7 separate regions of the Homo sapiens genome follow, and regions 2, 3, 4, 5, 6 and 7 are each linked to region 1. Evidence: promoter capture Hi-C in 16 types of primary human blood cells and fetal thymus (Javierre and others, 2016). All regions are on one chromosome and are shown on one strand. The core of a region is centred on a gene start or on the middle of the fragment in contact, and the rest is flanking DNA. Distances in the headings are between cores, read along the strand shown. Region 1 holds the start of HOXB5 (homeobox B5). Region 2 overlaps SKAP1 (src kinase associated phosphoprotein 1). Region 3 holds the start of CBX1 (chromobox 1). Region 4 overlaps SKAP1 (src kinase associated phosphoprotein 1). Region 5 overlaps SKAP1 (src kinase associated phosphoprotein 1). Region 6 overlaps SKAP1 (src kinase associated phosphoprotein 1). Region 7 overlaps SKAP1 (src kinase associated phosphoprotein 1).

What was found. Contacts are between HindIII fragments. The CHiCAGO score rates a contact against its expected background, and 5 or more counts as called.
Region 2: a contact is called between a fragment that was not itself captured here and the fragment with the promoter of HOXB5 in region 1, in 2 of 17 cell types (M1 macrophages and endothelial precursors). The highest score is 7.9, in M1 macrophages.
Region 3: the fragment with the promoter of CBX1 here is called in contact with the fragment with the promoter of HOXB5 in region 1 in 10 of 17 cell types (total CD4 T cells, naive CD8 T cells, total CD8 T cells and 7 more); the score reaches 11.8 in total CD4 T cells.
Region 4: a contact is called between a fragment that was not itself captured here and the fragment with the promoter of HOXB5 in region 1, in 1 of 17 cell types (erythroblasts). The highest score is 5.4, in erythroblasts.
Region 5: a fragment that was not itself captured here is called in contact with the fragment with the promoter of HOXB5 in region 1 in 3 of 17 cell types (endothelial precursors, total CD8 T cells and megakaryocytes); the score reaches 5.7 in endothelial precursors.
Region 6: a contact is called between a fragment that was not itself captured here and the fragment with the promoter of HOXB5 in region 1, in 2 of 17 cell types (megakaryocytes and total CD4 T cells). The highest score is 5.6, in megakaryocytes.
Region 7: a fragment that was not itself captured here is called in contact with the fragment with the promoter of HOXB5 in region 1 in 1 of 17 cell types (endothelial precursors); the score reaches 5.4 in endothelial precursors.

What each region holds. Positions count from the first base shown.
Region 1 is chr17:48,592,529-48,596,415 of GRCh38, reverse strand. HOXB5 (homeobox B5) reads left to right here and starts at 2,637. Exons shown (of 2, transcript NM_002147.4): 1 at 2,637-3,295. The coding sequence starts at 2,734. The region is part of intron 1 of HOXB-AS3 (HOXB cluster antisense RNA 3); the gene reads right to left. It overlaps HOXB6 (homeobox B6), which reads left to right. Exons shown (of 4, transcript NM_018952.5): 4 at 1-665. The coding sequence ends at 3. RefSeq lists enhancers at 1-651, 1,694-2,199, 2,429-2,498, 2,200-2,707 and a silencer at 2,964-3,013. The HindIII fragment of the contact is 5,828 bases long and covers 1-3,281 here.
Region 2 is chr17:48,210,278-48,213,925 of GRCh38, reverse strand. The region is part of intron 4 of SKAP1 (src kinase associated phosphoprotein 1); the gene reads left to right. It also overlaps the pseudogene LSM3P1. Among named protein-coding and RNA genes, the nearest start is that of MIR1203, 56 kb to the right of the region's middle. The HindIII fragment of the contact is 9,033 bases long and covers 1-3,648 here.
Region 3 is chr17:48,099,065-48,102,909 of GRCh38, reverse strand. CBX1 (chromobox 1) reads left to right here and starts at 1,432. Exons shown (of 5, transcript NM_001127228.2): 1 at 1,432-1,642. RefSeq lists enhancers at 1,014-1,273, 1,100-1,699 and a silencer at 1,644-1,693. The HindIII fragment of the contact is 8,551 bases long and covers 1-3,398 here.
Region 4 is chr17:48,227,774-48,231,484 of GRCh38, reverse strand. All of the region lies in intron 4 of SKAP1 (src kinase associated phosphoprotein 1), which reads left to right. Among named protein-coding and RNA genes, the nearest start is that of SKAP1-AS2, 65 kb to the left of the region's middle. The HindIII fragment of the contact is 1,138 bases long and covers 1,154-2,291 here.
Region 5 is chr17:48,164,872-48,169,083 of GRCh38, reverse strand. All of the region lies in intron 10 of SKAP1 (src kinase associated phosphoprotein 1), which reads left to right. Among named protein-coding and RNA genes, the nearest start is that of MIR1203, 10 kb to the right of the region's middle. The HindIII fragment of the contact is 3,368 bases long and covers 1-3,142 here.
Region 6 is chr17:48,134,385-48,138,387 of GRCh38, reverse strand. SKAP1 (src kinase associated phosphoprotein 1) reads left to right here. Exons shown (of 13, transcript NM_003726.4): 12 at 1,051-1,159. The coding sequence ends at 1,152. Among named protein-coding and RNA genes, the nearest start is that of MIR1203, 20 kb to the left of the region's middle. The HindIII fragment of the contact is 2,109 bases long and covers 225-2,333 here.
Region 7 is chr17:48,188,843-48,192,777 of GRCh38, reverse strand. It overlaps SKAP1 (src kinase associated phosphoprotein 1), which reads left to right. Exons shown (of 13, transcript NM_003726.4): 5 at 3,278-3,355. Among named protein-coding and RNA genes, the nearest start is that of MIR1203, 34 kb to the right of the region's middle. RefSeq lists an enhancer at 1-609. The HindIII fragment of the contact is 2,439 bases long and covers 1,122-3,560 here.

The DNA of each region.
Region 1 (3,887 bases), core at 1,388-3,887:
TGAAGGTGCTGGAAAGGGAGGGAGGACGCGAGGGGAAAGGCCTGTGGGGAGCCGAGGGCGTCAGAGAGACCCGGGAAGGAAGGCTCTCGGGTGGGGGAGCCAGGAGACCTGCTCTCCGGCGCAGACAGGCGGGGCCCAGCGCTCTCCTGGACGCCCCCGCCCGCACAGCTCCCGGCGGGTGCTCTGAGGCCTCACTACTCGAGCCCACCCAGCATCCCGCGCGCCCTTCCTTCCCGAGGAACTCGCCTCAGCCTGATCAGGCTTCCTGGTGAGAACTGAGGAGCGGACTCACTTGATGTTTCCTGGAAGCAGAGCAAAATGCTCTTGTCCCTGTCGCGTCTCATTTTGTCCATGTCCCCCGTGCACGGTTCAATGGTAGATTCGCTGTCCCCTCAGCGGGGGCCTTGAAGACTCCCTGATCCCAGACCTGTCGTCTCTCCCACCCCCTCCCCAAAGCCACTGGAAGGAGCACATACTACCTAGAAGTAAGAAGAGGAGCCTCAGAAGAAAACAAAGTTCTATTTTATTAATTTTCTATGTGTTGTGTTTGTAGTCTTGTCTTAGCTCTGGACGTGAAATACTTCGATGATGATGATGATGATGATGATGATAATAATAATAATAATAACAACAACAACAACAATAATAAAGATGTGAAAACTCGACGCTCGGTCACCTCCAATCCTCCCCTGCCATTTTTTCCTCTCTCCTCAACCCCCAGCCTCTCCATCTTTCCTGAGCCAGAATTCTTCAGCAAAGGCGAGAGCCCTGGCCCGCCGAAGCGAGCCCTGTTCGACTGGGAAGTTACAGCTGAGATAAAGGCTGGAGCGATCAGTCCTGCCCAGGCCCCAGCGCTGCGTTTCCCTGGTGCTGAGGCTCACAGCCGCTTCTCCCCGTGCAGACTTGGGGGATGGAGAGGTGCTGTGTCCCTCTCATTCTCTAGCCTTTCCTCGTGTATACACAGCACTAAGGGAGCCACTGAGGCCCCTAAAGCTCTCTGGCGGAGACGGAGCCATAGTCTGGGGGCCTCTGCAGCGCTTTTCTGTCCTCACCTTCGCAGCGACCCCTGGTCTTTGGCCCGTCCACATGGCCAGGTTTTTTCGCCAGCCTTGGCCCTCCGCTCCTGGCCTGTGGCTCTGGAGACTGAAAAATGGGGCCACTGGGTATCTCTCACCCTGCAGCTGAAGGCTCCAGGTGCCCCTTCCCACCTCAAGTAGCAGATCAGCCTCAAGTAGGAGATCAGCCTCAAGTAGGGGAATGTAAAGCCACCAGCCAGGCACAGGCCGAAGGCCACAACTTTCCCTTGCTCCTTGGAGACCCCAGGGCAGGAGGCCAGGTGATGGGGCTTTTAGTGTCATCCTCTCAACCCAGAATGGCTCATTCTCTCTCTGCTTGCACCGGCACCCAGAAGGCAAGCTGCGGTCACTGTTTTCCTTTATTCCTCCGCCCTCTCGCTTCCTTTCTTATTTTTAAAGAAAATAGTCCCCTCCTAATAGGAGACCAGCTGCGGCGGTCTCTGGCCGCCCAGCGTGCTCAGCAAAGCATGCGGGTCCTTGGAACCCCTTTTCCGGGAAGGCGGCTGCCACCAGGCAAATTCTCAAACTGCCTAGCTGCGAGTGAGGGACCTGTAGTGGGGCCTCCGAATGCAATAGCCGAGGAGGAGGGGAAGGGATCCCGCTTTACAAACTCTCAGACACATGTTACTACTCAAACTAAGCAGCAGACGCGGTGGCCGCTGCAGTCTTTTCGGCAACTAGGCCGCTTAGCCCCAGCTGTGCTCGGTTTCTGGGGTCCCTGTCCTGCTCTGTCACTCCCCACGCCTGGGCTAAGGACCACCAAGGAGGTCCGGAAGGGGATTTCGAACTTCCAAGTGGCCCAGGAGAAGTGAACGCTTCTCCTTCTTTTTCAAGCCTCCCGCCCAGCCCTGCCGGCTCGGCCTGGGCGCTGTGGACCGGTAACAGCAGTTCCACCAGGATGCAGGCCGGACTAAGCTCCTGGGGAAAACCCGTTGCAATAATTGTTTTTCACACACAACTTCCAACCCTTCCCCCATTTCCGCCTCCAATTCGGAGACTTGCAAAGCCCAAGAAAGGGAAAAGCAACTCTATCTTTGATCTTCTCATCCAAAGTTAAAATAATAACGACAATGATGATGTAGGGAGAAAGAACCAAATAGAGAGGCTAACCCCACCCACAAGAAAGTGGGTAAAAAGCCCAACCCCTGCTCTAAAAGGCTCAACCCTGTGGCTGAGCCTTGGCCGGGTTTCTTTCTCTCCCGGCGACTGCAGGGAGCCTGCAGGGAGCCAGCAGGGAGGCAGCCGCCCGCCGCCATGGCGGTCTCACGCCCGCGCTCCCGTCGGTCGCCGGGAGGTGGCGCGCTCTGCTCAGAGGCCAAAGCCAACCTTCTCTCTGTTTCTCCCCCTTCTCCTTTTTTCCCCCTCTCTCGGAGGCTCGCATTGAATCGGCCCTAACGATTCTCGGATCGTCATTATTTGTAACCATAGAGCATGAATTACCTCTTGAGGTCATCAGCGAGAATTTACGACTGGTCAACAAAAGCACGTGATTCCCTAACGCCCCCCACCCCCCTTCCAACCCCCCCCCCATATTTGGCCGCATACATAGCAAAACGAAGTACAGTGCATCGCTATAATTCATTAATACATCATAAATCGTGAAGCACAGGGTTATAACGACCACGATCCACAAATCAAGCCCTCCAAAATCACCCAAATGAGCTCGTACTTTGTAAACTCCTTCTCGGGGCGTTATCCAAATGGCCCGGACTATCAGTTGCTAAATTATGGCAGTGGCAGCTCTCTGAGCGGCTCTTACAGGGATCCCGCTGCCATGCACACCGGCTCTTACGGCTACAATTACAATGGGATGGACCTCAGCGTCAACCGCTCCTCGGCCTCCTCCAGCCACTTTGGGGCGGTGGGCGAGAGCTCGCGCGCCTTCCCCGCGCCCGCCCAGGAGCCCCGCTTCAGGCAAGCGGCTTCGAGCTGCTCCCTGTCCTCGCCCGAGTCCCTGCCCTGCACCAACGGCGACAGCCACGGCGCCAAGCCCTCTGCTTCGTCCCCCTCCGACCAGGCGACCTCAGCCAGCTCCAGCGCCAATTTCACCGAAATAGACGAGGCCAGCGCGTCCTCGGAGCCTGAGGAAGCGGCAAGCCAGCTAAGCAGCCCCAGCCTAGCTCGGGCGCAGCCAGAGCCCATGGCCACCTCCACAGCCGCGCCCGAGGGGCAGACTCCGCAAATATTCCCCTGGATGAGGAAGCTTCACATCAGCCATGGTAATTCTCTCTCTCTTTTTTGTCTTCTCGGCTTTCCTTCTCTGCGTTTTGGGGTGGGATCGGGGGGACAAGGAGAGCTTGGCTTTACCCTAAATATAGATTCATTTTTCTAAGGGGGAGAAGTATCTAAGAGGGGCCTCATAGCTTCGTAGACAGAGCCAAAAAGGGTCTCTCTGTTAAGAGGGGGGTATTTTTAATAATTTGTTTCCAGCTTCGGCTTAGGTTTTTATTAGCGCAGCTGAACCAGCTTTAGGATAAAGGATGGGGTTCATATAATGTGGGGAAGGGTCCTGCTTACCCCTGAAATTTTGAGACTGTCGCTAGCAAAGAAGGGGTGAACAGTAAAAGGAGCTTTCCGGGGCAAAAGTGCAACCGCTCTCCTCCCTCCCGGGGCGAGCGGCCGCCTGAGCCCAGCCAAGGGTGAGGCACTAGGAGCGAGCAAGAGACAAAGCCGGGCGCACTGGCTGCCTGCAGAAGTGGGGGATGCAGTAGAAAGGGGTGCAGAAATCGAGCTTGAATGTGGGCATCTGGAGTAGAGAGGATTGGAGCTGTGGTGAGCTGGGTGCCGGGACGCCTGGGTCCTGCTCCCCCG
Region 2 (3,648 bases), core at 1,054-3,553, 380 kb after region 1:
GAGGTCTGGCCACCCTTGAGTGCTGTGCAGGTGCTGAGCCGTGTTTGTTCACAGAGGGATAAAAAACACATTTGTTCTCCAGGTTGTGTGGATAGACTGACAGATTTTGATAAGAGGGAAAAAAGTCTTCCTCTGTGGTGAGAAATAACATTTCTATCTAGAATAAGTGAAAACAGTGGCAAATATCATTCCTGTTATGGAGATGATTTTCCTCAACACATAGTGACAACTCAGCTGGGGGTGGGAAACACCAAGGTAGGTTGGAAATAGGAGGCAGAATGTGGTGACCCAGATCAGCAAGAAGCAGAAGACGGAGAGCCCTAAACCTTGTCCTGTGAATATGACAGTTGTTCTTGCCACACTAGCTTTCTTTTCCATTCCTGATGCCACAGTTCAATCTCCAAGCTGCTAGGTCATAGTCTCCTGAAAGTAGAATGGCTTATTGTTGGAGAGACCATTTCATATCCAAACTACTTATGTTCCTCTTTGCATAGAGGTACTTCTGGCCCATCAACTCTGTATAAGGGCCTTTGCAGGGCGTTTACAACAGTACAGCTTTTTTTTTTTTTTTTTTTGAGACAGAGTTTTGCTCTTGTTGCCCAGGCTGGAGTGCAATGGTGTGATCTCGGCTCACTGCAACCTCCGTGGTGTTCAAGCACGGGTTCAAGCGATTCTCCTACCTCAGCCTCCCAAGTAGCTGAAATTAAAGGCACCTGCCACCACACCCGGCTAATTTTTGTATATTTAGTAGAGATGGGGTTTCTCCATGTTTGTCAGGCTGGTCTCGAGCTCCTGACCTCAGGTGATCCACACGCCTCAGCCTCCCAAAGTGCTGGGATTACAGGCATGAGCCACTGAGCCCGGCCAACAGTACAGCTTAATTCTGCTGAGGCACCCACTCTTTCCTACTCAGCCCCCCATTTTAAGAAGCATGCATCCCCTCAGAATAACTAGCCAGGGGTAGAGAAGCAGTCAACTAGACATGGAACAGAACTGAATTCTGCACGCCAATCAACCCACTTGGGATAAAGCCTTGTCTCCTTAGCACCAGGTCACCTTCGTCTCCTTAGCACCATGTTTCTCTATCTAACTGAGGTAAATAGCCATACGATTCAATGAGCTGGACAAATGAGAAACACAAAGAAAGGAAACAAGTCTATTGCATGATTTAGGGAGATCAGATTGGAAAAGATACAGTGCTTTACTTTTAAAATCATCCTAGTCAGTGAAGCAATCCAAACATTGCCATAGACTTAAACAGATTATTTGTATTTTATACCACATGCATCTAGAACAGCATTATCTGTAACCCTCAAGCACTTGGAGCCCTAGAGTTAGGGAAAAGTATACCTTTTCATTGATCAGAATCTTTTTAAGCACATCTAAGCAAATTTGGGTGTGAAATTAGTACTAACATTTCTCCTACTTTTTGTGAGCACTAACAGCTAGCGCACACTCCAGTGGTCTTATATGTTGTTCTGCTCCTGACAGTGTTATAGAAGTTAACTTCAGGAACTTGGACAAGAAGGCCTGTATTCCAGTCCTTCCTTAGGCAAGAGGTGGACTTTTGAATCACATAATTCCAAGAGGAAACATAACCTTTCAAAAGATAAACCAACACTTCATTTATTTGAGGCCTCTGTTATGATTCTTGGACCACAGATAACTACTTTGAACAAATTCTCACTCTTCATTAGTGGAAAACACTTTCCTCTAATCGCCACGAATTACCCAACACCTGGAATTAAGCAGTCTTCTCTTACCATACTCATTTTCTTTCTTTCCAGTGGGATATTCTAGGTTCATAAGGTGACTGCCAATACTTATTTAGCTGTGTGCAGTATTACTGGTGTAGCTGAGACTGCTAGCTAGCCCCCAGTTCTGGGTTCGTGGCTGCCCAGAACAACTCCCTGCCTCCACGGCAACTAGATTTGACCACGTGATTTAACTTCTGGTTAGTGGAATGTGTAAGTAATGTGTCAACTTTTTAGGGCCACACACAAGTGTCCTTAAGCAGGTAGAGGGATGGTGGTGCTGTCTGTGTTGCCCCTTTCCTCCTTCCTGCTGGCTGGAACTGGAGCCAGTTTGGACCATGACGAACAAATGACATACTTTATAAAGATAGAAAGAGCCTGAAGAGGAAAGGGCGAAGGGTTTGAAACATGGTGGACGACATAAACCAGCAACAAACTACCAACACCATAGAGGAGCCCCTTGATTTCATCAGGCTCAGCCTGGATAAATGAATTTATGGATAAATGAGAGATTACCAGGAGCTTCTAGGCAGATTACATGCTTATGATCTACATTTAAATATGTTATTGGGAGATGTGGAAGAAACTGTGACTACTACAGAAATTGAGGAAGAAGCCATCATATATAAGAGATATATAAATCAGCGAAACAGAATATTCGAATGCTGTTTTTCCCAGAAGATGTTTTGTCCTGGTTGTCCCTCCGTTGAGAGTTGGCTGAAACAATTTATCCCATATGGAAAATAGGAGATTTTGTACAGGTACCTCTTTAAATGTTCAGGACATTCAAAAGAGAAACCAGCAAACATTTTGATATTAAGAAATTCTCCCACTCCTGAAATGAATTGATTTGCAGACAACTCATAACTTCTATTAAAAAAAAATTTTTTTTAATAGAGGTGGGGTCTCACTGTGCTGCCCAGCCTGGTCTCAAACTCCTGGGCTTAAGCCATCCTCCCACCTTGGCCCTCCAAAGTGCTGGGATTACAAGCATGAGCCACTGCACCCAGCCCAGATAATTCATAACTTCTTAAGCTAAATGGCATTTTTATTTTTCTCCAACCCTTCTAATAAATGTGATCACCAAGATGCAAAACTCTTTTTCAGGAAAAAAAAGAGGAGCATGAAGTGCCCTCCCATTCCTGGGGTGCCTCCCCCCAGTCTTTTTATACATGAGGGACAAATTACCTTCTATTTTGTTAAGGCCTCTATTATTTGGGGCTTTCCGTCACACTGGCTAAACTAATCCTAATGATACATCTGGTAAGGACTTCCTTTGGAGGGTAGCCGAGGACAAACCGAGCAGGGTAACACTCGGGAGGAGACTATGAGGAATAGAATGGGAAAGATACCACAGTGATGAAATGACTACAAGTGGCCTCCTCAGCCATGGAAACGATTAAAGCCAGAGTTATATTAGCACAGATAATAATTTCTTTAGTATTTCTTAAATGGTGTTATGCAGAAGTCCTAACTTTTATTGGTTGATTAATGTAGTTTATTCTAGTCTTGGTAATAATGATCCTGGGTAGTTTGTTAAAATTGCTGTGAGTACAAGTTGTCTTGGCTCTTTTCCAGGTCACCTTTGGTTACTTTGGTGCCTATAGCACTTCTCTTGCCCCTCGTGCTTGTTCTGATACTCACTGTCCAGGCCCTCCACCTGGGGGCCTCCCTGGGCCCACCTCACCAAGGCCCTCCAGCAAGCCATCAGGATGATAAGGACCTAACATACAAATCTACTCTGAGGCTGTGGTTCTTAGCCCTAGGTGAGCATCAGAACTACTCATAGAACTTTGTAAAAATAAACATGCCTCAGCCCCACTCCAGATAATCCTGAATCAGTATATCTGGGGTGCAGTTCAGGTATCTACACTTTTTTAAAAAGTAGACAGGT
Region 3 (3,845 bases), core at 183-2,682, 490 kb after region 1:
CCGTGAACAGTGCCTGCATCAGCAAAACTGTCTTATAAATGCAAACTCCTGCCCTGAACAGTGCCTGCATCAGCAAAACTGTCTTATAAATGCAAACTCTTGCCTTTTGGGGTAGAGTGCAATAGAGTTTCCCTCTTCCTCCTGATTAGAAGGATACTTTAAAATAAAAAAATAAAACTTTAGTTATATTGTGGCTTAAAAACATGTTTTTTTCCTAATTGTGTGTTTCCTTGGGATGATTGGGTGAAAGGTGCTGACGGAGATTAATGACACTGAAAAAGGTGAGCACAACTTACAATGAAAAAGAGGACATTTTTGTGGCGCAGCCAGTGAAAAGGGGGAAATTCAGGAAGCTATGAGAGGCCTATGGGGGGACCTAACCTACTCTAGGGAATCAGGGAAGACCTCAAAGGGGAAGTAATCTTAACACTGAACAGTATTTTTTTTTTTAGACGAAGTTTCGCTCTTGTTGCCCAGGCTGGAGTGCAATGGCGCGATCTCGGCTCACTGTAACCTCCACCTCCTGGGTTCAAGCGATTCTCCTCCCTCAGCCTCCCGAGTAGCTGGCACTACAGGCGCCCGCCACGACGCCCAGCTAATTTTTGTATTTTAGTAGAGATGGGGTTTCACCATGTTGGCCAGGCTGGTCTTGAAACCCTGACCTCAAGTGATCCACCCACCTCCGCCTCCCCAAGTGTTGGGATTATAGGCTTGAGCCACCGTGCCGGCGTGAGTAGGAATTTTACAGAGATTTGAGGAGGCAGAGATTGAGGACTAAGAAATCATTGGAAATTTGAGGCAGCGGCGATATGATAAAGTTCTGGTGAAGAATCTAAGATTCAAAAATTTTGAGGATGTGAATTACAGAACTGTCCAGAAGTGGTTGATTTTTTGGGGGCCAAGCATCAGGGGGCTCGCTTATAAAAATCATATGTTCTAATTTTTTTTTTTTTTTTTTTTTGAGATGGAGTCTCGCTCCATCGCCCAGGCTGGATCGCAGTGGCTGGATCTCGGCTCACTGCAAGCTCCGCCTCCCAAGTTCAAGCAATTCTTGTCTCAGCCTCCTGAGTAGCTGGGACTACAGGCACCTGCCACCACGCTCGGCTAATTTTTGCATTTTTAGTAGAGACAGGGTTTCACCTTGTTGGTAAGACTGGTCTCGAACCCCTGACCTCAGGTGATCCACCCGCCTCGGCCTCCCAAAGTGCTGGGATGACAGGCGTGAGCGACTGCCCCTGGCCCATATGTTCTAATATTCTAGGTTACAACGCTCTACGCTGCAATCTCTCCACCGTTACAGTTTAAAAACTATAAGTCCCTACCACCCTCGCCTACTGTGCGTGCGCGGCGCGCGGCGCTTCGGGCCTTGTAGTCTTGGACAGACCCCCGAGGCCCATGGTGCCGTGCGGCGGGTCGTTGCGCCTGCGCGGTGCGAGCGGCGGGCAGCGCAGACTGCGAGGCTCTTTTGTTCGGCTGAGGGGAGGGCCGTTGGCCGGGGCCTGCGGTACGCCGCTTCAGTGAGGGACGCCACTGCGGCCACCCGGCTTGCTGCCTTCCTGGGCGCCACTCCCCCAGGCGACCCGACGCGACGCGCCAGCAGCGCAGCACCGATTCCTCTCGGGCTCTTGGGCGCTGCTCTGAGGTGAGGAGCCCGCTGGAGGCGGGAGAGCTGGGGGAGGGGGCGCGGCGGCGGCGGCGGCGGGAGCCCTGCGTGAGGGAACGCGCTTTCGAGGCGGAGGTTAGGAGCGGGGAGCGCGCCCGGGTCCAGCGTCCTGCTTCTCCGCTTCCCGCGCTGAGCTCTTCGCCTGTCGCTGAGGCGTCGGTGCCAGCTGCGTGAAGGATGGAGAGGGCGGGGCGCGAATCCTGAGCCAGAGACTGAGTGCTTGGGGGTGGGCCGAGCACTTGGGGGCCGCTCTTCGGGGCCCGGGTGGTCTGGAACAATGTTGCTTGGCTGGGCGGCTGCGGGATAGGGCGGAAGGGGACAGGCTTGAGGCTTGGATAGGCGTGAGGAGGCGCATACGACCGCACAACCCGAGGTTTGTAACTGTATTCGGAAGACGCCGGGTCCGGCTGGGACTGCCAGAGGAACCTGGCTTTGCAGGACTACGGAGGAGTAACGTCGAGTGAATTGGAAGAGGGCCCAGGGCCGCACAAGGTGTGCTGATTGGAGGAGGAGATGTGTGGAATAAATTGGGAAAGGGGACACGGAGGGGGAGGGGCAGGCGTTTGCTGGGCCTGACTCTGGAAGGGGAGGAGCTGTTAGGATAAGTAGGGCGGAGATCCCGAGAATATTTCTATAAGGTATGTAAGAAAAAAGGGGAAAGCAGGCCGCCCTTGCATCCTGATGGGTCCTTACAGTGGGGAGGCTGTAAGAATAATGTGCGAAGAAAGGATGGAATACGCTTTTTTCAGTTTTCCAGGTTTCCTACTACCTTCACTCCATGATTCCTTTGGGGAGTTAAAAAAGTCCAAGTGCAGTTCTTGCTTTGATTCAAAATTAGTTCCGTACGTTTTTGTGTGGGATCGTAACTGGTCTCACAAAGGTGATGAAATTGTAAAAATATGTAGATGAGTTAATAGTTGAGGAACGGCGTGAGGTAGTGAGAGATTGTGAGATCGTGTGAGGTGCGAGAAATTGGGAGACATAGGAAAATTATGTGAGATTGTGAGGTAATATTTGTTTCGTGGGCCCTTCTGTTTTTAGCCAGCTTTTCCTTGTTGGAAAATTTGAATAGAGTGAGCTATATTTTACCTCTTTTTTTTTTTTTTTTTGAGAAGAGTCTTCCTCTGTTGCCCAGGCTGGAGTGCAGTGGTGCGATCTTGGCTCACTGCAACCTCCACCTCCCGGATTCATGCGATTCTCTTGCCTCAGCCTCCCGACTAGCTGGGATTACAGGCACACGCCACCACGCCCGGCTAATTTTTGTATTTTTAGTAGAGACGGGGTTTCACCGTACTGGTCACGCTGGTCTCGAACTCCTGACCTCGTGATCCTCCCGCGTCGGCCTCCCAAAGTGCTGGGATTATAGGCGTGAGCCACTGCGCCTGGCCATATTTTACCTCTTTTTCAAAGTTTCAAATGAGGGTTTTTCATAAATTGGTGTTACATTTAGACGTGTTGGTTTAACGCAATTGAGGTGGAATTTACAAAAAGTTCAGCTATAATCAGTTATATACTAGAACCCCTAGCCCAGGGTAAAGTAGCCTCCTCAATTGTGTTAAGAGTCACATCAGCAGTTTGGAAAGATTGTGAAAGGTCCAAGGCTTTGGAATAGATTCAGGAATACAATGGGGAAATTAATGCCGGTGTTCCTCCCTAGGTGCCTTATAGACTTTTATATGAAAGTGGTGTGATTGAAAAGCACTTGTATTGAAACCGGTGGCACCTTAATGAAGCTTCACGGGAGTGGAGGACCTGAAGTCGTTTACGGTTTTCCCTGTGGTGATATTTTTCTTCAATGGCTGCTGTATCCTAAATTGTTTCTCATTAAAAAAATAAATAGTAGGGTCGGGCGCAGTGGCTCAAGCCTGTCATCCCAGCACTTTGGGAGTCTGAGGTGGGCGGATCATGAGGTCAAGAGATCGAGACCATCCTGGCCAACCAACATGGTGAAACCCTGTCTCTACTAAAAATACAAAATTAGCTGGGCCTAGTGGCGCATGCCTGTAGTCCCAGCTACTCGGGAGGCTGAGGCAGGAGAATCGCTTGAACCCGGGAGGCAGAGGTTGCAGTGAGCCGAGATCTGCACCACTGCACTCCAGCCCGGGCAACAGAGCGAGACTCTGTCTCAAAAAAAAGAAAAGATAGATGATAGGTAGATAGATGGTGTGTGAAATAAATAGTT
Region 4 (3,711 bases), core at 473-2,972, 360 kb after region 1:
TAGTACCCTTCCTCAAACTATGCCAGTTGTTAAGTTAATTTGCTTTTGCTTTCTGCAAAAGCAGCCTTCTTTCTTCAGGCTGTGTAAGCATGTATGCTTTTACAACAGCTATTGCAATAATCCCTACACATTATTAGCTGTTTTTTGAAATAATGGTATAATTACTGGTCTGAGAGACCCTTAGTGTGAAGATCTCTCTCAAACATGGAAGCATAATAGAATAATTTAAGGGAGTCTGTTAAAAATGTAAATTTCCAATAACCTGACCCAGAAATTCATTCTGATATCTGGTGAAACAGGGGCAAGGCTCTAGAGGTATCTTTAAGGTGCCCAGGTGATGCAAATGCAGCTGATTTGTAAACCACTGTGTACACTAACTTGAAAATACTATGGTTTAAACAGACTGGGACAGAGAGATGTAAACACTGCCTGCATCTATCCTTTAACCTATCCCTGAATTAAATGCCCACAGCCTTCTTTCTTCATCATCTGTATCACATCTACCTCCTAAACTGTGCAGATTACATGAGATAATATATGTAATACATTTCATTATCATAAAGGACTATACAATATCTTTTTTATGCAACTGTGCTTTTATGCAAAAATCAGGTTAATATGTCATTATGCCTCTATTCTATTCCATTTCATTACATGTCTGTCTAATAAAGATTTAGGATCTTACTTATAATTATATATGCTTACTCACTCATAAAACAATTTTTTTTGAGACAGGGTCTCACTCTGTCACCCAAGCTGCAGTGCAGTGGCATGATCGTGGCTCACCGTAGCCTCTATCTCCCCAGGCTCAGGGGATCCTCCCACCTCAGCCTCCCAAGTAGATGAGACTACAGGCACACACCACCACACCTGGCTAATTTTTTGTATTTTTTGTAAAGACAGGGTTTTGCCATGTTGCCCAGGCTGGTCTCACACTCCTGGCCTCAAGCGATCTGCCCACCTCAGCCTCCTAAAGTGCTAGGATTACAAGTGTGAGCCACTGCAACCGGCACATAAAACAAGATGATTATCTTCTTTGTGTATATGTTAGTGTAAATCACTTTTTGCCAGGCATGATCTTCCCTCTCCCCCATCAAGCAGTTCTGGAAGAATCTGCAGAAAGACACCTTTGAGTTTAACACAAAACAAAGCTTTGTTGATGCTTTAACCTAGTATGGACAAGAAAAGACATCCTGGAAGGCTGTCATGTGGACAGCAAGTTCTAAGAAACAGGTTACACAAGAACATTGCCTGGTTTATTATTTTTAATTTAATGAACATTGTTCCTGTAAAAATTGCAGGGCAGATATTACAGGAAATCAACATCTTTTTTTAGCCCTAGAGCAGACAGCCCAGTAATGGCCATGGCTGGACAAGTATGCCTGACCTGCATTCTAACCAAAGGGGCATTGTTGAAAAGTGAGAAGGATTTTTCAGTTCAAGGTCTGAGCCTGGATGCTCTGCCCTTCTAACAGAGACTGTCAGCATGGAGGCGAATTTTGAAACTAAGTTTTGTGATGTGTGCACTTTCCACTAAAAACTGGACCAAGCCCAAGACTCATTTCTCAGGGTTTCCTATCCAAGCACAAGATGAGGAATGGTCTTTGGTCATTACCACTTGGTTTGGAATAGCCCAGAGGTGAAAGAGTTGCTATTAGATTTCATTAATCTGAAGAACACTGTTTAGGTTAAAATGTCTTCTTGCTGTTATAATTGGAGAGGGTGACATTGGTGTTTAGCACCAGCCAAAATATATAAACTCAAGATTAAGGAGAAAAAAGTTATGAGTTGAACCTGTGAGTTTAAAAAAACTGCAAATATTTTATTTATTTTTTATGTATATTTTATTTATTTATTTATTTTTGAGACAGAGTCTCACTCTGTCACCCAGGCTGGAGTGCAGTGGCATGATCTCAGCTCACTGCAACCTCTGCCTCCTGGGTTTAAGCAATTCTCCTGCCTCAGCCTCCCGAGTAGCTGAGATTACAGTCACCCACCACAACGCCCAGCTAATTTTTGTATTTTTAGTAGAGATGAGGTTTAACCATCTTGGCCAGGCTAGTCACAAACTCCTGACCTCAGGCGATCTGCCCACCTCGTCCTCCCAAAATGCTGGGATTACAGGTGTGAGCCACCACGCCAGGCCCGCAAATGTTTTATGATGACAAAAAAAGGTTTAGTACTGCTAACTTAACTGATGCTTCTAGGTAGTTGATGATCATCATTCTCTTGCTTTATTTCCAAGTCTACGTAATAAAAACAAAAATAAATAAAATTTTCATATTAAAGCTTCAGAACCCTAAGTTGAAAAAAGAGATTCATACTTAACCGCAGGTCTTTTGGGTGCCTACAATGTGTCAGACATGGTGCTAAGTGTTGGGTGTAAAGAGAGTAGGATCCAGACCTCACCCTCAGGGATGCACGACCAAGAGTACAGAGACTCACTCCAGACCTGAAGGCAGTGCTGAGAAGAGGCAGAGAGGTCTCCTCTCTGAGCTGAGCATCAGATGTTAAACTGTGGTGTCTTTCCTTATCTGCCCCAGCTCTTACCCCACCTGCCTGTAGAGGGCCCTGTGCCAGCAAACCACAGGGTTCTATTAGGAATCCCACCACAGTGTCAGCTCCTTTAGCCCAGCTCTGTGGTGCCTAGTTCTCTCTTCAGTTTTCCAAAATGCCTAGGACCTGGCCCAAAACCCCAGGCACTAAACAAAAAGGCTTAACTGAGCTCTGGCAGTCACTAGCTGTATAGTTTGAGCAAATTACTTAAACTCTGTATCCCTCAGTTTCTTCATTCATAAAATGGGAAAACGCCTACATCATAAGGTTGTTTTGAAACCTGAATGAGTTGATACATGTAAAGCACTTAGAACAGCAACTGATACATAAGTGGAGTCTAATAAATGCTCACCAGGCTATTTCCTCAGTTCTAACACAAAACCTAATACAAGGCTTAAATTATTCAAGGCCCACCTTTGCTATCTATTGGGTATGATTTGAGAATTTAACACAATACTGCAGCAATATTTGAATAATGCTCCAAAAGCAGAAACCAACCTATAGAAGCATCTATGATTAGCTCTGGTCAGATGTCAGAAAACATTTCAGGCTATTCAAGTGTCAGTGCTCTCTATGGGAGGTTTATTAACAATACAGATGTTCTATATTGCGTTTTTTAGTGAGACACAAATACACGGTGTGAAAAAATTAAGTATTTTAGAGACAGACTTTTTATTGGTGTATTAGAAAGATTTCTCATGCTCATTCAATCTCTCTATCTCTCTATCTCTCTTTGTCTTTCTCTCTCTCTCTCTCACACACACCCTACCCCACCCCCACATCTTATATAATTATGTTTCCTGCAATCTTAACAATACTGAATTACATCAGTGTTTCTCTATGCATAAGCCTGCAACTTAATTGTAGATATTAAATATATGTCATAATATCTCTGCTACTTATTAGTGATCAGGATATACACAGAAATACACCTTGAAATGAATGAGAGACTTTGTAGCTCCAATATTTTTATTTATTTAACCAACATTTACATAGTGCATATTGTGTTCCAGACACAGTTCTAAGCACTATTTAGCAGTAATTCATTTTATCCTCGTAACAACCTTATAAGATAAAACTGAAACACAGAGAAATTGATCAGTTCGCTGAAGTCTCACAGCTGGTAAGGGTTGGAACCTGGATTCAGAGCAGGCT
Region 5 (4,212 bases), core at 209-2,708, 430 kb after region 1:
CCAAAATAAGTGTTGTTAAAGTATAGCAAGCTCTGAATATGTTTCTATGGTTTACACTTCCCACCAGTTATAATGATTGGTGACTTAGTGATTAAAAAACAGGAGGACTTTTTGCTCTCTCTGCAGAATCTGAGGCAGGAATTTTTATTATTTGTGTTTACTTATTTATCGATTGATTTTATATACTGCCTTTTCTCCAAAGGCGCTATAGAAATGGTGAAAAATACATAAATCCAAATGTCATCATTTAGTTTTGTAACAATAAAAGATAGAGGTCTGGGGGAAGGGCAGGCAGCCCCAGTGAAGGCATTTAAAAGGCAGGGAGCTCTAGGACAGTGTGAATTCCTATGTCATAGACAAGCTACACAAGTTTGGGCTACTTAGTTTTTCTCAGGTGTGTGTTTTTTTGTTTGTTTGTTTGTTTTTTGAGATGAAGTCTCGCTCTGTTGTCCAGGCTGGAGTGCAATGGCGCTATCTCCGCTCACTGCAACCTCTGCCTCCCAGGTTCAAGTGATTCTTCTGCCTCAGCTTCCCGAGTAGCTGGGATCACAGGCACGTGCCACCACGCCTGGCTAATTTTTGTACTTTTAGTAGAGACAGGGTTTCACCATGCTGGCCAGGCTGGTCTGGAACTCCTGACCTCAGGGGATCCGACCGTCTTGGCCTCCCAAAGTGCTGGGATTACAGGCATGAGCCACCACGCCCAGCCTTTTCTCAGGTGTTAACATGCTTTTGGGGAGAAAAATATATATAAGCAAGTTGACCTTTCCCTTCTTCCTTTTTTCCCAAAAGATGCTATGGCTAGCAGAGTTACTTTTAAAATCCAAGTACTTTTCTCCAACCTCGATGGATCCTGTTCCTTGAATGCTGTGCTTTTTTCTCTGATGGAATTGCTAACATTCTGAAGGCCTAACTAGATCTTATCAGAATAGGGGGGAAGGGATTCGGTTCATCCTTATTGAGTGTTAATGACCCTGTAAGATGTAATTTCTTTTATTTCATTCTGTTACCTAGAAAATCTATCACAGCCTTGTAGTATTGATTGCTCAATCTATAAAGAGCTCAGTTTACAGCATGACTGTTAGTAACAGGGTTATTTTAATGAGTGACTCTTCAACACCTCAGAGTTTCACTAAATTCCAACCCATCAGCCCAGTAGTCTAACATTAAGGGTCTTAGGTAATGAGAACTTATCACCTTTCCCTATCATGAAAAGGTAACCTCCAGGTAACCAAAAATAAAACTTCCTCTGTGTTCGTTTTTTATAGAAATTACTGGCCATTTGTTTGCATGTGCTATGTCAAATAAAAAGCAACCCTGGAGGCACAAATCATCCTTAGATACATAAAATCCCTGACCAAGGAAAACCTGAAACAGACCCCTCCCACCCGTACCTCCTTCAGTCTGCCCCCAACCCCAACTCTGAAATTGTGGAAAAACTAAGCCAAAAGGAGACACAGACCACACTATTGTGGTCTTATAAGCAAATGATTGCTTTTAGGAGGGCCAAAAAATGGTTGCTTATACCATTCCATCTCTGAGGCCCCCTTCTCACTTTAGTGCGCGCCAATAGAGTGAACTACTACATGAAAGAAACAAAGGGAAACCACAGAGGTGTTTGCAGCTCTTACCTTTTGAAGCCTGTTTTCCAAGACCAAACATGAGCTGATTATTAACCAGCTAAAATTATGGCCCAATGAAAAGAGGAAATGACATGAAAATCAGAATCTGAGTATACCCCACTTCCAAATCATACTTATACCACTAAGATCATAGTAATTTCAAAACTCAAGATTAAAGGGCTATGAAATAAGCAAATGGTATTATCCAATTGCTCTTCCTCCTCTGGTGCCACAGTCATTGGGGGCTTGGCAAATATTTTCATAGCTTTCTTCTGAAATAGTTAATAAACTATCAAGGCTGGGCGCAGTAACTCACATCTGTAATTCCAGCACTTTGGGAGGCGAAGATGGGAGAATTGCTTGAGCCCAGGAGTTTGAGATCAACCTGGGCAACAAAGTGAGACCCTGTGTTTTCAAAAAATTAAAAAGATTAGCTGGGTGTGGTGGCATGCACCTGTAGTCCCAGCTACTCAGGAGGCTGCAGGGGGAAGATAGCTTGAGCCCAGGAGTTCGAGGCTGCAGTGAGCTATGATTGTGCCACTGCACTTCAGCCTGGGTGACAGAGCAAGACCCTATTTCAGAAAAAAAAAAAAGGAAAAATTGTCAGAGTTTACTTGAATGAACTCAACATGTTAGACCTTTCTGACCTGGCTTAAAGAACATTTCAAGTCACTTCCAATGGGTCACTACTTTGGCGTTTTTTGTCCAAGTCTTACCATCCCATCCTCTCGTAGGACTGGCTTTATCCATCTTCATGTTTTGTCTCTCTTTTCCATAACTTAAGAGGTTGTACTCAATGCCAGGCCTTATTGACACGATCATTTTAGTAATCAAGAAAATGTAAATAACATGCTGGCCTGCCTTTAGCCACTTTTCCCTGATCACAGCCTGAATTCTGTCGCTACCCAGTGACTCCCAAACATAAGCTGAACTGTGGAAGGAACAGTCAGATTTTATTGTCCCTAAGGAAGGAGAAAGGCAGAGAGATGTCCTGGTCCTTTTTACCTTAAAACTTTGCTCGTCACACAGGCTAATTTTCAGCCATTGACTCTATCATCAGTAGCACCAACTTGGCCTCAGTTACAAGAGAAATGACTGTCACTAGTTGTAAAGAACCTGGCATGCAATGACAAATGCTTTGCAATAAATAGAAAAAAGAAACCAATACTTTTTTTTAACTTGTTCTGTTGCTATTCTTCTTATGACATTTTGGTTGCTTGGAGTTTAGCTTCCCTTACATAGGATAAAGAGAGTAAGATGCTGCTTTTTTTTCTCTAGAAAAAGCCCTTCTCAGCTCTGCTAGCAATTTAAATGCAGTGATCATACCCATTAGCTTCTCTATCATTGTAATTGTTGTTAATTGTTATAACTGTTTTAGTTATTAGTGGTGTCATTATTGCTCTAGGTCCTCTGTCTGTTTTATGCTGAATATATTAGTGCTTTGCTTTTGAATTACCAGGCTTTATTTAGTGCAGAGTTATGTTTTTCGGAGAGACATTGAGAAATGCTGGCATTAAGCTTTATTCTTTTGTTTTTCATTCCAAATGGACAGACTGGAAAAAAAATAATTAGATGGAATAATGTCCTTAAAATGAGAATTAGGATGTTTTGAATTAATTAAATGGTCAGAATGCTGCACCATTTCTGATTTCAGACGGCTGCCAGAGTAGTGTAAGCCTAAAGGAATCTAAATCCAGCCCATAGAGGCAAGCCTCACCCTTGGGCTCTCAGTTCCTCTCTCTGCTCTACAGAAATCAAAGTCGGCCGGGCACAGTGGTTCATGCCTGTAATCCCAACACTTTAGGAGACCGAGGTGGGCGGATCACCTGAGGTCGGGAGTTCAAGACCAGCATGACCAACATGGAGAAACCCCGTCTCTACTAAAAATACAAAATTAGCTGGGCGTGGTGGCACGTGCCTGTAATCCCAGCTACCCGGGAGGCTGAGGCAGGAGAATCCCTTGAACCCAGGAGGCAGAGGTTGTGGTGAGCCGAGATCATGCCATTACACTCCACCCTGGGCAAAAGGAGCAAAACTTCGCCTCAAAAAAAAAAAAAAGAAAGAAAGAAAGAAAGAAAGAAAAGAAAAGAAAGCAAAGTCTCCTCATGCATTCTCTTGTTTATAGGATGAGTTGGGCAGGTTTAGGGAGAAGCTGGACTAGCCCTGCAGACTCTGGGCTTTTAAGCTCTTCCTGGTGCCAAGCTTCAGGAATGAAGCCCTCCTCCAACTTATCTCTTCCCCTCTTCAAGGTCTTTAACACCCACTTGGCCAGAAAAGCCTTTTCTGACCCCTCAAACTATGTTAGATTCCCTATTACACACAGCGTCCTCAACTTCTCCTTCACAGACATATCATAATCATAAATAAACATTTGTGTAACTGTTTTTTCCATGGTGCTTCCCCGACTAGAAGGTACCCTTGAGAGGAGGGCTCATGTGTGGCCAATGTGGGATTCCCAGTATCTAACACAGTCCCTGGCATTTAGTAGGTACTGTATACATGTCTGTTGGATGATGAGAATGAATTAGTGAAGTTGCATGCACACATACACATAAATGCATATCACATGTGTGTTAAACAGGAAGTCTGC
Region 6 (4,003 bases), core at 30-2,529, 460 kb after region 1:
AAAAAAAAAAAAAAAAATAGCCGGGTGTGATGGCACGCACCTGTAATCCCAGCTACTCAGGAGGTTGAGACAGGAGAATTGCTTGAACGTGGGAGCCGGAGGTTGCAGTGAGCTGAGATCTTGCCACTGCACTCCAGCCTGGGCGACAGTGCGAGACTCCGTCTCAAAAAAAAAAAAAGAAATAGCCCCATACTCTTCAACATCTGCTGTGCTTTTGAGAAGCTTTTCTGTATTCAAGGAGCTGCATCCTCACTCTGTGACTACCCCTTAAACTCTCTTTAAAACCCTCTCATCCTCTTTCTTGTTTGTTCCTCTCTGTGACTAGCCTGTCATTATTAATGTACCTGTCACCTCTCACCTGTTCTAGGGAAAGAATCTAATGTTTAGAGCATCTACTATGTATCAAACACTTTCAGTTGTTTTTACTTCAGTGATACAATTTACATCCCCACAAGATAGAAGGGAGATATTATCCCTACTCTCACAAAGAAGCTAAAGCTAGGAGAACCTAAGGTCATGTGACTACTAAATGACCAAGCGAGGATTAGATCTCAGTCTGTCTGACTCCAAAGCCCATTACTCTGCTGTAAGCTCCCAAGGAGCAAGCAATCTTCTGATTCATCATTACATACCTCATGGGAACTCAAACAGCACTTTGCACATAGAAGATGCTTGATAAATATTATTGATTTGAACTATGACTTGACCCCTTGAATATCTGTAGTGTTCTGGCAATTTAATGTGTGCCCAACTTTCTCTAAGAAGCCATACCATTCGGCTTGGTTTAAAAAAAAATGCTCTTCAGGTTCAGCAAGGGCATCAAATGTGCTAATTTTACAATGTAGACAGGAAGATGGCAAAAGGAAAGTGCTTGCTCTCTTCCTCTAGATGATTTTTTTAAATTTAATAATCCCATCAGGGAAGTTAACAGTTCACAGTGATAATGGCAACAATGAAACCACCAAACAGAATCTCCCATGCAATCACTAGAATAAATGAGCAGAAGCATGAACAAATTCTAACTGACGCTATCCTCTTTTCACTTTTCAGGAGTATAACATGTATGGCTGGTGGGTGGGAGAACTGAACAGCCTCGTTGGGATTGTTCCAAAGGAGTATCTCACCACTGCCTTTGAAGTGGAAGAAAGATGAAACCCAGGTATCAGAACCATGGCCAATGAACTGCCTAATAGTTGAGTGGAACTTGTGGGCCACTACTTTGTTTCTCTGAAAGATGAGAGTTGCCAGTGAAGTAGCTTTTCTTCATTTCTCATACTAATGCTAGTGATTCACCACTGATGGAAAGAAAATGCCTCTGGAATTGTTTTTTTCTTAAATTTGGGGACAGTGTCACTTAGGATAAGGTTCAACTAATAGCAACATAAAATCTAAACTAAAAATGACTTAATTAACACAGAAAGCCAGGCACAGTGGCTCACACCTGTAATCCCAGCACTTTAGGAGGCCGAGGTGGGCAGATCACCTGAGGTCAGGAGTTCGAGACCAGCTTTACCAACATAGTGAAACCTCATCTCTACTAAATATACAAAAAAAAAAAATTAGTCAGGTGTGGTGGTGGGCGCCTGTAATCCCAGCTACTGGGGAGAATCGCTTGAACCCGGGAAGCGGAGGTTGCAGTGAGCCGAGATCACACCACTGGACTCCAGCCTGGGCAACAGAGTGAGACTCCGTCTCAAAAAAAAAAAAAAAAATTAACACAGAAATGTATTTTTCTCTTCTGCAAAAATCTAGAGGTAAGTGGTCCAAGGTATCCAGTCCCAGGTACCTTTTCTTTTTGTTCTTCTCTGTGTGCCCAACATTCTCAAGGTTACCTCAAGGCCAAGACAGATGCTCAATCTCCAGCCATCCTGTCTGCAACCTACACAGCACAGCAGGAAAGATAAAAGGAGAAGGTCAGGCCGGGCGCAGGGGCTCACGCCTGTAATCCCAGCACTTTGGGAGTCCGAGGCGGGCGGATCATGAGGTCAGGAGTTCAAGACCAGCCTGGCCAACATGGTGAAATCCCATCTCTATTAAAAATACAAAAAATTAGCCAGGCATGGTGGTGTGCACCTATAATCCTAGCTACTCAGGAGGCTGAGGCAGGAGAATCGCTTGAACCCGGGAGGCATAGGTTGCAGTGAGCCAAGATCACGCCATTGCACTCCAGCCTGGGCAACAGAGCAAGACTGTCTTGAGAAAAAAAAAAAAGAGAGAGAAAAGCATACCCTCTTCCTTTAAGGGTACTTCACAGATGTTGCGCACACACTTCCTTTCACATTCCATTGGTCAGAAGTTGGAATATATGGACACAGCAAGCTGTAAAGAAAGCTTATAGCCCTGTGTCCAGCTTAGAATTGGGAGATTCATGATTAAATACAAAGGGAAGAATGGATATTGGGATAAAACTAGCAATTTTTGCCACAGGGATGGATCTAGGTTTATCCCCAGCTCTCAAACCCAGGGCACCATTTCCCCAAAATCCCCACATATTGCAATATGACTGACCAAGATTAGGAATCCAATATGAGGATTCCTTATATTGGAACATATGAAATATTGGAACTATGGAACATAATCAAATTAACTTTTAAGTAATAGAGAATATGGTTTGCAGGGCCAGGCACAGTGGCTCACACCTGTAATCCCAACACTTCAGGAGGCCAAGGCAGGAGGATCACTTGAGATCAGGAGTTTGAGACCAGCCTGGGCAGAAGGTCTCTACAAAATTTTTTTTAAAAAATTAGCCACGTGTGGTGGTGCACGTCTGTAGGCCCAGCTACTTGGGAGGCTAAGGTGGGAGGAATGCTTGAGCCCAGGAGGTTGAGATTACAGTGAGCCATGACTGCACCACTGCACGCCAGCCTGGGTGAAAGAGCAAGATCCTGTCTCAAAAAAAGAAAAAGAATAGGTTTGTGTTGTATTAGCAAGAACCACATTGTGTTTCAAAATAGTGGGGGTGGGTGCCTGGTTTGGGTGGAGTAATAGTGGGAGCCACTTTGGTGCAGAGTGGGTTTTGGTTAGAATTAAGATTCTGATGGAGGGCCCCCAAGACCAGCATGTTGTCACTAGCTCCATCTTCTGGCCTGAAATAGGAGCAGTCTTCACTGCTGGGGGTAAAGAATGGCATCAGTGTGACAGTGATACAAACATTCCTTGGAGTCCAGACCAGAGCCCACTCTAGTGTGCTGCAGCAGCTGAGTGAACTCATTTAGGAAAATACATAAGGATAGATCTTATTCTCCAATGCCCTTGTACAACCATACAACACCAGCTCAGGCCTGTCACTCAAGGTTTGACTTTATGATTTTCCTGATGAAGACTGTTTCATGGCCACAAGTATAGAGGGTTGGAATTTTTCTGTCAAATCTAAACAAATCCAGCCAGCCGGGCATGGTGGCTTACACCTGTAGTCCCAGCACTTTCAAGGCCAAGGCAGGTGGATCACTTGAGGTCAGGAGTTCGGGACCGGCCTCACCAACATGGTGAAACCCCATCTCTACTAAAAATACAAAAATTAGCCAGGCATGGTGGCGGGCACCTGTAATCCCAGCTACTTGGGAAGCTGAGGCAGGAGAATCACTTGAACCTGGGAGGCGGAGGTTGCAGTGAGCCGAGATCGCGCCATTGTACTCTAGCCTGGGTGACAGAGACTCCATCTCAAAAAAAATAAATAAAAATAAAAAACAAATTCACCCTTTTCACTCTGTCATTTATTTGTTTATCTCTTCATTGTCTTTGGCCCAACAAATCTATTTCTAAGAATTTATCTGGCCAGGCGCAGTGGCTCACGCCTGTAATCCCAGCACTTTGGGAGGCCAAGGGGAGCAGATAACGAGGTCAGGAGTTCGAGACCAGCCTGACCAACATGGTGGAACCTCATCTCTACTAAAAATACAAAAATTAGCCAGGCGTGGTGGCGGGCGCCTGTAACCCGGCTACTCAGGAGGCTGAGGCAGGAGAATTGCTTGAATCCACGAGGCGGAGGTTGCAGTGAGCTGAG
Region 7 (3,935 bases), core at 1,092-3,591, 400 kb after region 1:
TTGGGTTTCAGTTGGTGGGGAGAGAAAAACCTCATGCTGATAATGTACTGAAAGTAAATGAAATTAAATAAGCGAAGCAGTGCTCATCACTACTTCCTCCCCCCTGGGTAATTCAATTCAAGCTCTCTCTCTGATGGCAACTCACAGGGGCTGTCTCTGTCACCCCGCTGGGGCCTGGAGTCTTAACATCTAAATAAAAGTTTCACTCAGGCATTTTTTATGCTCCTGCCAGCAGGATCAGTGAGCTGGTGTGGGCACATTAATGTAATATTCATACTCACAGACTCTCCCTGCACACGAGGCAATGTCTTCCCATTTTCATAATTATAGATGTTCCATAAAATGGCATTTAAATTTGCATTAAAAAAAGGAGGTTTGAATTCTAATAGAACGTTTAACATGTCTTTTATGATTCAGACTCTTGGCATCTTTGACAAGGAGCTGTGTCTCTAAGTTTAACAAGACCTTTAAAAAGAAAAGAAAAAAAAAACCTGTGGAAAGAAGAGATGGAAACTCCCAGCTTATGGGATCGTGTTTTCCTCATCTCCCTATGTCTTTCATTTAATTTTTAGGCCTCCAGGAGCAATTTTTTTTTTTAAGAGGCAGAGTCTCGCTCTGTCCCCAGGCTGTTGTGAAGTGGTTCAATCACAGCTCACTGCAGCCTTGAACTCCTGGACTCAAGAGATCCTCCTACCTCAGCCTCCAAGTAGCTGGGACTACAGGTTTGTGCCACCACACCTGGCCTCCCCAGGAGCAATTTTTTGACAGCACTTCAGAGAGCCTTCTCTTCTGTAACTGGTCCTCACCCCACTCAATGCCTCACCCTCAGTAGAATCTGCTACTGTTTCCTTGGAGGGTGTTTTCAGAGGGGTAGGAGAAATGAAAGAACCCTAGAAAAATGAACTTTCCTTTGCTGCTGTTCATCTCATGCGTGCACCCTGAGATTGATTAAAAGGATTTATGGCAACCACATAGTTTGCTAACTGTGAAACACACAAATAAAAGTAGTCCATGAACAAGGAGGTTAACAATAAGGACCAATTGGATAAAAAATCAGGCACATAGACACACTTAAAAACAGAAAAAGAGGCTCTTCTGATCTACCTTTTTATAACTAAGCTTGAAACAGCTTTAAAGCAAAATGTAATTTTGATTGCATTTTAAATTGTCGTAGATGTTATTTTAAAACAAAAAGTAGGAAAAGCACTGAGCAAAGTGCCAGCTCATAGCCACCATTGAATAAATGTTATTGTAGGAAATGTTCAAAAAACAATTGTTTGAAAAAAAGTTATTTCAACCATAACTCTCAAGATACTCTATAGGTGGCCCAGTTGATTCATATGTAGTTATGCCTTACTTTGTTTTGTATTTGGTTTGCTTCATAAATTATTTAAGACAATCCAAAAGAGATTTGAGTTCTGGGACTAAAAAGAATAAATGTTAAAATACCGCTAGCCCAATTACCTTCATTTTGCCTAATTAAGAAATGTGGAGTGTGTCCTTAAAAGAGGCTTTTTTTTTCATTCTTCTTTCATTTTATTTTTTGAGAAGTAAATTCCTTCTTTGTCTCCATCCTTTGTCCCTCCCTTCTGTGAAGTAAGTATAAACCCCAGTGGAGGAAGATGGATTAGGATCTTGACTTCTCAATAAATTTGTACCTAACAAGGCTAATTGAAAGCCAAGAATGTTAGCAGCATACAATTAAAGGCTGATGTAAGTTTCAGGGTATTATTTGTGAAGCCTTTTACAGTTCTTAGATTCTTTCGCATACTTTTTTTTGTTTGTTTTGTTTTGAGACGAAGTCTCATCCTGTCGCCCATGCTGGAGTGAAATGGCACGATCTCGGCTCACTGCAACCTCCGCCTCCCGCATTCAAGAGATTCTTGTGCCTCATCCTCCCGAGTAGCTGGGATTACAGGTGTGTGCCACCATGCCCGGCTAATTTTTTGTATCTTTAGTAGAGATGAGGTTTCACCATGTTGGCCAGGCTGGTCTCAAACTCCTGACCTCGTGATTTGCCTGCCTCAGCCCCACAAAGTGCTGGGATTACAGGCATGAGCCACTGGGCCCAGCCTCTTTCTCAGACTTTTAAGAAATCAGGATTTGACAGTTATTGCTAAGTTCAGCTTGCATAGCCCTTCTTCTATGAACTTAAAAAAATTTATGTTCACAGAGATGGCTATCTGTTTGTTAAGAGAAAAAAAATTGAGTGTGTATTTATTGCTCCCTCTTAGGTGACTACGTTTATGGTGGAATCTATTACTCATTAAAGCTGTCTGTGCTGGTAGCTATTCATTTGACTTTTGATTATCTCAGTGAGGTTTATCCAACTTGGAACTTATATCCACAAAAAAATTCTTAAGTTTGGCTGGGCGCAGTGGCTCACGCCTGTAATCCCAGCACTTTGGGAGGCCAACGTGGACGGATCACGAGGTCAGGAGATCGAGACCATCCTGGCTAACACGGTGAAACCCCATATCTACTAAAAATACAACAAAAAAAAATTAGCCGGGCGTGGTGGTGGTCGCCTGTAGTCTCACCTACTTGGGAGGCTGAGGCAGGAGAATGGCATGAGCCCGGGAGATGGAGCTTGCAGTGAGCCAAGATCGCGCCACTGCACTCCAGCCTGGGCAACAGAGACAGACTGTCTCAAAAAAAAAAAAAAAATTCTTAATTTTCTGGAGTCCTTTTCCTGCCCATCAGTGCATATTTACGCTACCTCACCTTACTACAAATTAGTGTATATTTAGATAGTTTTAAGCAATTTTAGCATTAGATATAATTGAAAAGAAAGAAAATTGGCTGGGTGTGGTGGCTCACGTCTGTAATCCCAGCATTTTGGGAGGCCGAGGCGGGTGGATCACTTGAGGTCAGGAGTTCGAGACCAGCCTGGCCAGCATGGTGAAACCCCATCTCTACTAAAAATACAAAAAACATTAGCCAGGTGTGGTGGCACATGCCTGTAGTCTCAGCTACCTGGGAGGCTGAGACAGGAGAATGGCTCGAACCTGGGAGGCAGAGGTTGCAGTGAGCCGAGATAGCGCCATTGTATACTCCAGCCTGGGTGACAGACCAAGACTCTGTCTCAAAAAAAAAAAAAGAAAAAGCAAGAAAATTTACTTTTCCCTCCAATCATACAGAAATTGTTTTATTTTGTACTGTGTTTAAGCAATTGCCCTTTTTGTACTCTGTTATTAATGTGAATTACCTAAAGTAGCCTAAATAAATGAAAATTTTGCCAGGTTTCAATAAAGCATTTTGCCATTGGTCCTTTTAGGAATGGAAGACATCGTAAAAGGAGCTCAAGAACTTGATAACGTAATCAAGCAAGGATACTTGGAGAAGAAAAGCAAAGGTATTGGTCAGACCCACAGATTTCAGAACATTCCAGGAAGGGAAGGGAAGTGAGGAAAAAGAAGGCTAACACATTGGATGCCTTCTCTGTGCCCGGTACTGTGCTAGGCGGATACAAGGCAAAAGCAAAGCAAGGAAAGGAAAGGAGTCTGGTGTTTTCGTGTAGGCTAAAGAGAGATGTCCCAGCCTTGAGCAGACTGTAAGCTTCATCAGGATAGGGATGGTTATGTCCTGCTCACCTCTGTATCCCCAATGCCTGGTATGTGACAGGTGCTTGATAAAACTTGTTGAATCCATGAATGGTGTTCTTGTCCTCATCTCTCAGTGTGCTCCCACTGTGTAGTTTTTGTATCATATGTGAAGCAGTCTACTTTCAAATTTCAGATAAACCCAACTCTTTTGTTTTTTGTTTTTGTTATTGTTGTTGTTGTTGTTTGAGACAGAGTCTCACTCTGTAGTGCAGTGGGTGTGAACCTGGCACACTGCAACCTCCACCTCCTGGTTCAAGCGATTCTGCTGTCTCAGCCTCCTGAGTAACTGGGACTACAGGTGCGTGCCACCATGCCCAGCTAATTTTTCAT